Regions from separate parts of the Homo sapiens genome. Here region 1 is linked to region 2. The links are contacts of gene promoters, found by promoter capture Hi-C in human tissues and cell types (Jung and others, 2019). All regions are on one chromosome and are shown on one strand. Each heading gives the region's core, a stretch centred on a gene start or on the middle of the fragment in contact. The rest is flanking DNA. Distances are from core to core; before and after follow the strand shown.

The links. Contacts are between HindIII fragments. The study calls those that stand out against the background at their distance.
Region 1: a contact is called between a fragment that was not itself captured here and the fragment with the promoter of CCK in region 2, in 2 of the 25 tissues and cell types used here (H1 embryonic stem cells and pancreas).

The regions. Positions count from the first base shown.
Region 1 is chr3:42,346,199-42,352,757 of GRCh38, reverse strand. No RefSeq gene overlaps it. Among named protein-coding and RNA genes, the nearest start is that of LYZL4, 61 kb to the left of the region's middle. The HindIII fragment of the contact is 5,410 bases long and covers 1-4,567 here.
Region 2 is chr3:42,262,539-42,269,175 of GRCh38, reverse strand. It overlaps CCK (cholecystokinin), which reads left to right and starts at 2,991. Exons shown (of 5, transcript NM_000729.6): 1 at 2,991-3,492; 2 at 3,739-3,907; 3 at 4,269-4,479; 4 at 5,544-5,759. The coding sequence starts at 5,546. The HindIII fragment of the contact is 4,994 bases long and covers 1-4,640 here.

The DNA.
Region 1 (6,559 bases), core at 613-3,112, 85 kb before region 2:
TGCTGTGTCCCGCATCCTGGGGATGTGCCCCAGGAGCCTCTATGGGCAGAGGACTAGGTGGTTCTGGGGACCCTTTGCCCTGTATTAGCCTGAATGGCTCTGCTTTAACCTGTTTACATATGAATTTAATTTGAAAAAAGAGTTCTATTACTGCCACTGAAGAGAAAAGGTGATTCCCAGATGAGAATCTGCTTTTAATGAGTTGAGCTCCTCAGGATCCTGAGTTTACAAGCCTGTGCCTTTCCACCATGTAGGCCCTCATGGAGGTGTCTGCTGACCTTGCCCCATGGCTGCCGCCCTGGCATCACAATAGCAGCCTGAGCAAAGGATGTGGTCCATGGCCACTTAGGCCCTCTGAAGAGAATCGAGGAAACGTTTCTCTCCCTTCCTGAATCTCCAGTCTATACTTCTGGTTCCACATCTTTCCTCATACATTCCTTCCAATCCAGGCAAATGGACTATTCACTTTTCCTATTTTGCAAGGACACTGTCCTTACTTGGCATGTGTGGTAGACGAAATAATGCCCCCCACCCAAGATATCCACTCCCTAGTCCCAGGAGCCTGTGAATGTGTTACTTCACATGGCAAAGGCGATTCTGCAGATGTGGTCAAATTAAGGATCTTGAAGTGGGGAGGGTGTCCTGGATTATGCAGCAGGGGTCCCAGTGTAATCACCAGATCCTTACATGAGAGACGGAGGTGACAGTGGTCAGTCAGTGTGATGCAATGTGAGAAACACTCGACCAGCTGTTGCTGGCTTTGAAGATGGAAGGGAGCCTTGAGCCAGGGAACGTGGGCTACCTCTAGAAGCTAGAAAAGGCAAGAACTCAATTCTAGAGCTTCCATAAGGGGACACAGCCTGTTGACACTTTGATTTAGCCCAGTGAGATCCATTTCAGACTTCCGACCCCCGGAACTGTGAGATAGTAAATCTGGGTTGCTTTAAGCCACTGAGTTTGCAATAATTTGTTACAGCAGCAATAGGAAACTCATACAGTATCTTATGCTGCTCCCTCTGTCTGGGACACCTACCTTTCCCCACTCTCATCTCCACAAGTCCTCCCCAACCTTTCAAGGTCCAGCTTCAGTTCCCCCTCTTATCACGGAACTTCACTTGTCCTGCCTCTCCCCCCGAGCTATTATCCACCCCTTGGGAATTGTCCAACACATCCCCAGCTCCACAGCCCAGGCCCAGGACTGTCCTTCTGCCCTTAAAACACTGTGGTCAATGGCACCAGTTTTTCCCTTCAGCACAACTGGTGCAGACATTTTCAAGAATTCTACTAAAAATCAAAGGGGAAAAGGAATGATCTTCCAAACCACAAACATGAGAAAAATGTGTTATGCTCTCAAGTACAATTTTTTAATTCAAAAAATCCAAGTAGCAGTAGAATGCTGCCAATAGCAACCCTGAGGCACTGTCCTGGCTTCCTGCCCTCCTCCTCCCTGCTGGCTCTCTCCCGGATGATGTCTTGCCCACCGTGGAGCCATCTGATCCCCTCTGGGGCCTCCCACATTTATAGGTTCACACCTTCTGGAGCTCATTTGCTCACTCAGTTCTAGTACGAGGGCCTCAACCAGTCTGCAGCCTTTGGAAGGGCTCTCCTGATGGTCACAGTGGCAGGAGTGCCATATAATTCATGGTCCAAACTAAAACACTTTAGAGAGTAAAAGGAGGTATTAATTGTGCTTGAGTCAGGCGTGGTGGCTCACACCTGTAATCCCAGCATTTTGGGAGGCCGAGGCAGGTGGATCACTTGAGGCCAGGAGTTCAAGACCAGCCTGGCCAATATGGTGAAACCCTGTCTCTACTTAAAGGATACAAAAATTGGCTGGGCATGGTGGCACGCGCCTGTAGTTCCAGCTACTCGGGAGGCTGAGGCAGGAGAATCGCTTGAACTCGGGAGGCAGAGGTTGCAGTGAGCCAAGATTGCAACACTGCACTCCAGCCTGGGTGACAGAGCGAGACCCCATCTCAAAAAAAATAAAAAATAAAAAATACATTGTGCTTGAAGAATGAGTGTAAACCCGACTGTCCTGGGCAAACCACCCACCTCAGCAGTGAGGGGTCTGACTCTTGCTGGCTTGGGTTGTTTGAGGACCCACTTGGGAGCAGCCAGCGCTGCTCTCCTCAGTTCATTTACTAACGCTGATAAAGGGAACAACGTGCTAACCTCATGCTAACCACCCAGACATAAAAGATACAGTCAGACACTAGCAGAAGGCCAAATCAGCGGAGGGTTAAGAAGCGTTCTATGGAAAATTGTGCTCTGTGCTCAGATAAGTCTGGAAAAGCTGTTTTGCATAAGAGTATTTAAGTTTTGGTCTTTAAGTGCAGGACTTCTCAGGACCTTTAATATCCTAATGTGGGTTATGAAGCTCCAAGAAGAAAATACAGTATGCCGTATTTCAGATTTATTTTCCTGTGGCATATGGCCCCCTCAGAATACATTTGGTTGCTTTCCAGGAATCACATATGGTTCCTTCAGGGATTGTTTGAGGCAGATCTGAAATATCAAAGTGGCTAGTATTCTCTGATTTAGGAAATCCAAGTTCCCTTTCACTAAGGAAGCCTCCAGAGATAGATGGCTTATCCCTGAAGAGTCCTTGGAATCCATAAGCCATGTTTCTCTGGATGTGGTAGGAAAGGCTCTGGGGAAGGGAGGGGGTGTTGACAGGCACATATTGAGTGACTGCTTGTATCAGGTAAAATCTGGCCGGGGCTCCTTGTCTCCTGAGTGATGGTTGTTTTAGCAGTTGCGTTATCTTTTGCTAAAAAACCCAGGGGATTCTAGAGTGTCAAGCGATAACAGGGTGGGGCTTCTATCTTCAGCCTTACCCTTGGACCTGAGGCCTGAAGATAAGCCTGCTTCTTATCACAGATTTATTTTTACTATCTTCCAAGCCTGGGACAACAGCTGTTTATAGGGGATGGTTGAGTTGAGTGTTGATTCTGCTGTGGAGGAGGCAAAGTCCCTGCAGTCTGCACATTCGACAGTCTTCATCCATAAGGCATGAGGCCGGAGACCCGTAAAAAGAGTACATTCCTGCGATGGCCCACAGTTGATTATCCACACAGGAAAAATGAAGAACATTTCTTCCTCCAAGAGTCAGTATTTATCATCTCCCTGTTTCTGTCATCATCCTGGGCTTTTATTCCTAGACAATTTTGTACCATTGAGTGCTTTATGATTAGAAATAAATCAGTCCAAGTGTGGTGGCTCATGTCTGTAATCTCAGCACTTTGGGAGCCCAAGGTGGTAGGGATGCTTGAGCCCAAGGGTTCTAGACCAGCCTGGGCAACATAATGAGATCCTGACACTACAAAAAATTAAAAAAATTAGCTGGCCTGGTGGCACATGTTTCTGACCCTGGCTTCTTGGGAGTCTGAGGTGGGAGGATTGCCTGAGCCTGGGAGATTAAGGCTGCAGTGAGCTGTGACTGCACCACTGCACTCCAGCCTGAAAAACAGAGTGACAGCCTGTCTCAAAAAACAAAGAGAGAAAGAGAAAGAAAGAAAGAAAGAAAGAAAGAAAGAAAGAAAGAAAGAAAGAAAGAAAGAAAAGAAAAGAAAAGAAAAGAAAAGAAAAGAAAAGAAAAGAAAAGAAAAGAAAAGAAAAAAGAAAAGAAAAAGAAATAGATCAAAGCTCATCATATCAACCAGGAACAGTGCACACCCAAGGATTCTGAGGACGAACACGCTGTGTGGTGGGGAGACCACTGATGAGGAAGTCGGAAGACCCAGGCCTGTCTCCAGTGTTTTGCCCCTTACCAGCTCTGGGCTTCAGGGTTTTCGTGTTTGTTTGTTTTTAATCCATAAAATAAGATTTTGAATGAGATTATAATAACCAAGTGTCCGGTATATCATTTGTATCAAATGTAGCAGCATCAAAGTTTACTAACCAAGAATAAGAAATGCATTAATTTTGTGTGTGTACACGCACACACACACACACACAAACACACACACACATTTGACCACATCGTGCTTTAGAGTTATTTCCTTCTAAAAGCAAAAAACATTTACATTTACCAATTAAAGGTAATTCTGCCTCTTCTAATTCGACTGTCTCTTTTGTGTAAATATTCAGTTAATTCTAAGTTCAGCTTGCTGTCTGAAATGATGATACTCATCTCCCAAGGAATCTCCTTACCCCTCTTCCTTTCCAAGGCACCTCTCGAGGCAGGGGAAGACACATGGATTCTCCTGGAGTGGTGGGTAGGTAGGTCTGGGCTCCATGTGCTGTCCTCCAGGGCCCTGCCAACCTCCTCTGGGTGGCTCCCCACTCCCACCTTGGCTGCTGGTTTCCCTGCACTGGTGTCCACTAAGCTTTGGTGGCTCCTACCTTGTCTTGGGTACAGAGCAAGTTTCATGCTGATGGCCATGATCCCTGCCATTGCCCCTGGTCAGGGTGTCTCTCACTATAAGCCTTTTTGTTCCAACTCTAGGGCTGTTGATACTTGCATGTACTCTCTGGTGGCACCTGTGGCTCAAGGCTGCCAGGAGCACCATGCCCATCTCACCACCTGGCACCTCCGTCCACCAATGCTGCTCTAAAGCTGGCACACCATGTTGGGTCTGAGATCTGAGGCTCCTGTCATCTTTTCTCCCTGCCACTCTGAGTCAAGGCTTGGGGGTGGGGCATTCTAGATCTCTTCTTAGAGCCTCAGGTAGTATCTAAACTTCCATCCTGTCACCTCCCCATTTCCTGTTGTCAGTGTCCTGTCCCCAGCTCTGCAATCATCTCCTGGTACTCTACATTACGCTTAGAGTAAAATTCTCTGTGCATGGACCTCCAAGCTTTGTATTGATATACTGAGGCATTTAGTCCAAAGGGTACAGATATTCCAGGTCCATGATACTTTTATTAAACAGAAATAAATTCCATAACAGTGAGAAGATGGGAAAGAGGAGATAGATACACAGATACAACCACTCTTAGACTCAGTCAGGATGACATAGAAAGAAAGATCTGAAGATGGAACAGAATATAATGCACAGAGCTGTAGAGGCCATTGTCCCCTCAGCTTTGAATCCAACTTAACTTTGGAACAAGACTTCCAGAATTTTCTTTGCTACATAAACCCTGCTGTGGGTAACAGGTGCCCAACTCTGCACACAGGTGTGCTGGGCCCTAAGAAATGTCTCTACTGAGTCCACTCCTCACCAAGGCCGAGCAGGGCTAGAAGCCTGATGTCCCTGATGTCCCGGGGCTCAGAGTCACAGGTTGCTCTGTAATACAAGACTGATTTTGCAGCTGGGTTGGCGATTCTAATTTCCACCACTTCTTGCTGGAAAATGTCTTAGACATTCAAAGCAAAATGTAGAGTAAGTGAACTCATTAAAACCACAAATCATTTGACCTAGGGATAAAAAGTTACACAAAATCTAGTTAGTTTCTAAAAAAGCTACGTGGAATTTATTCAAGCTATTAGATTTAGCAAATGTAAGACCACAAATATAAATGTTTAAGCTGGAAGAAATCTAAGCTCAGAGGTTTCTATTCTACAAACCAAGTTTATTTCAAAAAAGAAAAAAGCTCTCCTTCCTTCTCACAGGTTCTTTTTTCACTCCAAATAAGCCTAGGTTGGCACAGGAAGCCAGAGTCACGGGGCTGGCTGTCGAAATGCCACGGATTTGGCCATGCAGTGACTATTTAACAATCCCACCTTCTTATCAAGCCAAATGCCATCATCTTATTAAAATTTGCTGCTTTAATTTGTGCAGTAGCAACAGAAAAAAATAAATACAAACTAAAATGTACTTCTGAACAGATTTAAAGTTGCATTTTAAGTTTTGTCAGATGCTCTATTGACTCTGTCTCCTGAACACCTCTTGGGTCTATTCACCCTTTCTAATCTGATGACCATTACTGATTAAAACCCTTGTCGGCCAGGCACGGTGGCTCATGCCTGTAATCCCAGCACTTTGGGAAGCCAAGGCGGGCAGATCACGAGGTCAGGAGATCGAGACCATCCTGGCTAACACAGTGAAACCCCATCTCTACTAAAAATACAAAAAATTAGCTGGGCGTGGTGGCGGGTGCCTGTAGTCCCAGCTACACGGGAGGCTGAGGGAGGAGAATGGCGTGAACCCAGGAGGCGGAGCTTGCAGTGAGCCAAGATTGCGCCACTGCACTCCAGCCTGGGCGACAGAGCGAGACTCCATCTCAAAAAAAAAAAAAAGAAAAATTAAACCCTTGTCACCTCTTTCTTGGATCCTGACAACAGACTCACACCCTGGCTAGTTCTGAGTGAATGAATTTAAGGTATTTTCTTGAGTGATAAGAGAATTATCTCAGAAAGGCAGGCAGCGGCCAAGCAGTAAAGGGCTTTTGGCCAGCCTGAGAACTGGATCTTTAACCATGCTCTTTCCACTGCCTTTGCAGAATGGTATAAGGTCCTTATCCAAGCAGATGGGCACCATGGCACTGTTCCAGATGTCACAGACAAAGGGAGGATCAGGGAGAAGGTCTAGATTCTTGGTTTCAGAAAGTCTCAAACTAGGGTTCCTAGTTTGAGAAGGCCATATAGGGTAGCTTCCAAAAGTTGCCATGG
Region 2 (6,637 bases), core at 1,742-4,241:
GATTACTTGAGCCTAGGAATTTGAGACAAGCCTAGGCAACATGGTGAGACCCTGTCTCTACAAAAAATTAAAGTATTAGCAGAGTATGGTGGTGTGCACCTGTGTTCCCAGCTACTCAGGAGGCTGAAGTGGGAAGATTGTTTAAGCCAGGAAGCCGGGTTTGCACCACTGCACTCCAGCCTGGGTGACGGAGTAAGACCCTGTCTAAAGAGAGAGAGGGAGAGAGAGAGAGAAAAAAAAAAGAGAGAGAGAGCTGTTATCAAGTTCACCGATACAGGCAAAGGACCGTTGAGAAGTCTTTAGAAGCTTCCAGAAGGGTTCATACAGAGAGACTGGGGTTCCCATTCCCCACTGGCTGAAGATTGTCTTTCGGGGAGATAACACCCAAACTTACAGGCTGAACCTCTGCAAGGGCTGAACTTTGAAGGAGATAAGCCAAGAGGGGTGCTTTGAAAGCTTGAAGTGGGAATGCTGTCTGCTGAAAACTGCCCAGCCTGGCTAGGCTGCAGCTGAAGCCAGAGGGAGAACGTGGAACTGTGGTGAGGAGCACCAAAGGCATCTGCCTCAGGAGACATCAAGCCCATTTTTTTAAGTGAACAAATGGATTATCTTTAATGCGGATATGCATCTGGATTACAGGAATAGTGTCGGCTCCAGGCCTAACTTGCTTAGGAACCATAGTCAGAATAATTAGTACCTGTTGACCCTGTAAGAAGGAAAAATCATGACTATGGCCAAGGAGTTCAGATCCCTTATGTCTTTCTATTTTCCTAGCAGCTCTTCTATCACACATTTCCTGCTCAGAATTTCCACTCCTGAGAGACAAGCGGCTACAACTGCTTTATTTTACAATAAAGAGGCAAGCAGCTCTCTTGATCGTAAATGAGAAAGGCCCATGCACAAGCCCTTCTTCAGCTTCTGATGGTCCCTGTCACCTCTGGCTCTGCACTGGCATTTCCACGCTGGCCTCCTTGGCCCACTTGTCTGGTTCTGTACCAGCTCTTTTTCCTCCACCCACTCCTTCACGCTGTCACTCCTCAGCGGTCTGTCTAGAGGCACCCTGCCACCCATTGCTAGCTGCCTTCCTCAACTCTCCCTATAACTCCCAGGCTGGCAGCCACCACCCACATGCCAGACTCTGGGTCCACCCCTCCAGTGTCTCTCTGCTCAGGACAAAGGCTCCCAAACTCCTCCTAGACTGTCAATGCACAAACGATCAACCAATCCCATACTGGACTCATTACCCGCTCCCCACTGGCCCACTACCACCACGGCCACACTCCAAGCCTGCTTTTCCTTCTGAATTCCCTGTCTTGGATAATACTCTACCACCCACCCTTGTCTCCCAGCCTGGAAACTCAAGGTCAGTCTCAGTCACCAAGTCCGGTTCCCTCTACCAGTTTCCTGAGCAGCAACAGGTTGTTCCCTGGGAGGCTGGAATTTTTCTTCTTTTCTCTACTTTTGTTTTCTGAATGTTCTCTGATGAACACTTATGACTTGCATAATGTTTATTATGTTTCCTAATAATTAATGGGTTTCATAATGGCTTATTATTCTAAAACAAATCTACCTTGATTGTTCCTGCTTGCCCATCCCCGAGGGCCTCCTATCCAGCCCTCCCCTTCCAGTCCCTCTGCCTTTTGGGCATCTTCCATATTACCACCTAGCTCCCCTCACCAAAACATTTCTCCAAGATTACCTCCTACCATCTCCACTCCATAGTCCCCAAATATCAGAATTGTTGAGAAGTGTTTGTCCACTTGTTTGCTTCAGCTCCCCTATTGTATTGTCAGCTCTTGTTCATACTGAATCCCTGGGGCCTGGCACAAAGTAAGTGTTGAATAAACATGAATTAAATGGATCAAGGCCAGGAGTTGAGTAACTGGTATAAGGTAGGGAATTTCTATAGAAATGATCTCAAAGTGTGCTTGGCGGACTAGCATTTTCAGTATGGCCTGGGAACTTGTTAGAAATGTAGATTCTTGGTGGGGCGTGGTGGCTCACGCCTGTAGTCCCAGCATTTTGGGAGGCCAAGGTGGGTAGATCACCTGAGGTCAGAAGTTCGAGACCAACCTAGCCAACATGGTGAACCCTTGTCTCTACTAAAAATATAAAAATTAGCCAGGCATGGCTGCACATGCCTGTAATCCCAGCCGCTGGGGAGGCTGAGGCAGGAGAATCGTTTGAACCTGGGAGGCAGAGGTTGCAGTGAGCCGAGATCATGCCACTGTACTCCAGCCTGGGCGACAGAGTGAGACTCTGTCTCAAAGAAGGAAAGGCAAGGAAAGGAAGGAAGGAAGGAAGGAAGGAAGGAAGGAAGGAAGGAAGGAAGGAAGGAAATGAAGAAAGAAAGAAAGAAATAAAGAAGAAAGAAAGAAAGAGAGAGAGAAAGAGGGAAAGAGGGAGAAGGAGAGACGGAGGGAGGGAGGGGGGAAGGAAGGAAGGAAGGAGGGAGGGAAGGAAGGAAGGAAGGAAGGAAGGAAGGAAGGAAGGAAGGGAGAGAGGGAAAGAGGGAAGGGGAGAGAGGGAGGGAAGGAGGGAGGAAGGGAGGGAGGGAGGGAGGAAGGAAGGGAGGGAGGGAGGGAAGGAGGGAAGGAGGAAGAAAGGAAGGAAGGAAGGAAGGAAGGAAGGAAGGAAGGAAGGAAGGAATTCGGATTCTTGGGCCCTTCCTCAGACCTACTGAATTAGAAGCTCTGGGGGTATTTCGATAACAAGTTTATGTTTCCAGACATGTCTTGCCACAATCACAAATAAGACTCTTTTTCGCAACTGAACTACACAAACCTTAGCAGGCTCGTGGCGAAACCACTGGAAAGCATTTAATCAGCTTCAGCTCTTTCAAACATGTTGCCCATAGGTTGCAGAAACGCAGCTGCCTCTCAGGATTAGAAAGTGGAGCAGCAACCGGAGGCGTCTCTGGGCCGCCCCCCCAACCCCCCCACCCCGCCTCGCCCACTCCACCCTCACACTGGCGTTGCCACAGTCCCTCCATTCCAGAGGGAATTCCAGAGCGGAATACGGATTCCGATTTTAAAATAAGCGCTTCTAAATCTTTCTCCTTGCATCTAAGACGGGTGGGGGAAAGAAAGGGAGAGGAGTTGAGGTCCCAAGGTTCAAGGCCTGGTGATCTCCAGGTCCCAGGCTGGGCGGCCTCGGTGCACGGAGAGGGCGAGGGGCGTGTTGTGGAGCCTTGGCAAGGCGCTGCTCTTCCTCGCGCCTCGGTTTGCGGTCTGTGAAATGGGGTTGGCAGTGCCTTTGCAGGGACGCGGCGAACTCAAGCACCAGCAAGCGGACTCGAACTCAAAGGGTTTCAGGGTGTAGACGACCAGAGCGCACTGAGGGGCTCCAGGTCGGCCCGCTCCGGAGCCGGGAGAGTAACCGCGTGCAGGGAAAGGCGCACGGCAGCCTCGGTGCCTCCCTTCCCTCCACCGGACGGGTGACTGACTAGGGGTGAGGTCCTCACCTCCAGGCTGCGCAGCTGAGTTCTGGAAGGTACTGTCCTGGGGGTGTGAGTGTGTGGGCCCTCAGGAAAGGTGCGAGGGGCGGATGCCGTGGTCTACCCGAGCTTGCGGGGGTGCGGTGGTCAAGTTCCCCAGGACCCTCGCTGGCGCCGCTTGTCGACAACGGGGAACAGTGGGCGCCGCGGGTGGTGGTAACTTGGCCCGGGAAGAAAACACATCCCTTTCCCAAACCGGATTCCTCTGAGCAAAACCAGATGGTGTCATCCGCATTTTACAGCTGCGTCAAGAGAGGCCCAGGACACCAAGAGCCAGCTGTGGCCAGAGCCCTTTCACTGACCCAGAACACTGGCCCTCGGAAACCTGGAGAACTGCGAGGGCTTTTAATGCGGCTGAGAAGAAAGTGAAGACCCCGACTCCTCCTCTCTCCTTCGAAAGAGCCGACACAGGTATGAAGACCAGCGCCTCGGACGCTCCGGGGTAGGGGGCCGACGCCCCCTCCCTTTCAGAATCACGCCTTGCTGATGCTCAGTCCTGCCCAGTGTCCACCCCCCACCCCCGCCCCCAGTTTCCTTTCTAGCCCCTCCGGTCCCCAAAGCGAACTAAGCTAGCGGCAGCTTCTCCATCCCGGAGGAGACTCCAAACTCCTAGGTTTCCCACCTTGGAGAGTACTGCTCTGGAATGCGCAGGGGAGCGGCACCTGGAAAGGGTTGGGCGGAAGCTTCTCGGACCCAGAGGGGGCGGACACCCGGCACCGCGCGTGGGAGGGATTAACTCCACCCCACTAGACCACCTCCCCCTCTCTCCCAGGAGCCACTTCAACCGGTTGTCGCCCCAGTGGCCGCCCTCTGAGCACGTGTTACTGCCAGTCTGCGTCAGCGTTGGGTAAATACATGACTGGCCGACGCCGCCGGGTGGGGCTATTTAAGAGACAGCCGCCCGCTGGTCCTCCCTGAACTTGGCTCAGCTGCCGGGCTGCTCCGGTTGGAAACGCCAAGCCAGCTGCGTCCTAATCCAAAAGGTAGGTCCCTCGGTTCGTCAGCGGGGGATCCAAGTGTCGTGTGTCTTTGAAGGATGCTGTCTTCAGCTTTGTGCCCATTTCCATTATGCTTTTCTATTTTCTGTGTCTTCCCTCCGAGAGCTCGAAAGACATTTCTTGAAGTCAGAAATAACGGCTCTGGGTCTAAAAGTGAGGTCTGGGTGGGTAGAGCTGCTTTAGAGCCTTTCATACGCCAGCATCATTAAGGGATGAACTACCCATTCGCTAAGATTCGCATGCAGATTGAGTTTGCTAGCTGTTACACAGCGGTGCGGGGGACTTTGCAATCTTTTCTAATAAAATATTAGAGGGTTTTAAGATTTAAATTCATTTTCTAAATACTGCAGAAAATTTCGAGGCTTTACGGATAGAAACTTGAGGGTGTTTTATCCACTAGCGATCTAAAATGCACGGGGCTTTCGAAGCCTGAGCGCTGGGCACATATTTCTGATTTTAAAACCTGCCTATGTTCTGCGTAGTGGCTTATTGCCATTTCCCACGTACACTTTGAGAAAAACTTTATAAATACGGCTTTATTTATTGCTCCTACATTTTAAACTGTGCTTCTCTTTTTCATCATTTACTGTATTTCCATATTGAAAGCTTGTTAGCTATCTGGAAAAGTGCTTTCCCCAGGGTTCTCATTTCTCCCACGGAGTCTTCCCTTTAGGATATTTTTTTCACACTATTTTTAATCTCGTGGGGTTTTATTTTTCTTCTTTCGGTTAGAAGAGAGGCACTCTGCAAACACTTCCTCAAACTTTAGGAAAGCAAAAACATTCCTTCTGCTCAACACGGCAGAAAACAGGGTCTCTGCCCCTTGGCGCTGGGTGAGGAGTTCCCAAAGACCAGCCAGGTGCGCCCGGGGGCGCGCGCCATGGCACTCGGCTGGGGTCAGCGCTTGGCGAGCCCTCGTGCTTGCGGCGGCCTGGCGGGTCTGGAGCACCTGTGTTTGTCCTAAGCCCGCTTCTGGGTGCCCGGCCCGCCGCAGGAGCTCTGTTGCCCAGCCTTTCAGTTAACGCGCCCTCCTCCTTTGCTCGCTACAGCCATGAACAGCGGCGTGTGCCTGTGCGTGCTGATGGCGGTACTGGCGGCTGGCGCCCTGACGCAGCCGGTGCCTCCCGCAGATCCCGCGGGCTCCGGGCTGCAGCGGGCAGAGGAGGCGCCCCGTAGGCAGCTGAGGGTATCGCAGAGAACGGATGGCGAGTCCCGAGCGCACCTGGGCGCCCTGCTGGCAAGATACATCCAGCAGGCCCGGAAAGGTAAGAATGCTGCCTCCCCATCCCTCACTTCTGCCCTTGTTCCCAGGCTCCCGATGCTGACCCTCTTCTCTAGCGCTAGCCTGATGGGGATGACCTCTCTCGGTAGGAAACAAGCAACATGATTTCTGGCGGTCCTTTGTAGCAATCTGAGAAGGGGTATGGAGGACTTAATTTATAAGTAAGGGGAACCTTCTTGAAAAGCTTTCTTTGAACTAATTTTTAGCAGTGTTGCTGATTAAGTTCAACACCATTTTACCAAGCCATTAAAAGATAATTATTGAAGCCTAGGAAAGGGTTCCTAGATACAGTGAATACCCTCTACTGAAAACGCAAAGGACCTTGGAGCCACCCAGATACCAACCCTTGGAAATCCTCTAGCAGGAAGGGGTCAATGCTGAGAATGCCTGAGATCTGGCTACAACAGTTTAAAAAAGCAGTGACAATGTGTCCATTTCCACCAAAGTATGTAACAGAAGGAAAGAATCAGCAGCAGTTTTGTGTTCTCCTTGCAATGACTTACAAATTATTACCCAACAAGAGAGGTATTTGTTTTTACTTTACTGTTGCAGAGATGGTCACAGTTGTAGCAAGAGCTGAGCAAGTCAGTTTTCTCAGCATCAAAGTCTTTCTCCAGGAATAAGGTGATTCAGCAGCTCACTAGCCGAGTGGCATGCAGGCAATTCTGACCTGAGGCTAGCTTTCCCCTAAGCTCCTTCCAATTCTTTGTGTGATTCAGAGGGAGGCCCATTCATCTCTTGTGACCCATAGGAATCATGCTTTGGATTGGGGCAGCTTTTTTCTGCCAACTTTATCCCCAGTGACACTAATGATGAACACCGGCTGTGGAGCAGTGTGCTGAACAGTACAAACACAGCTGG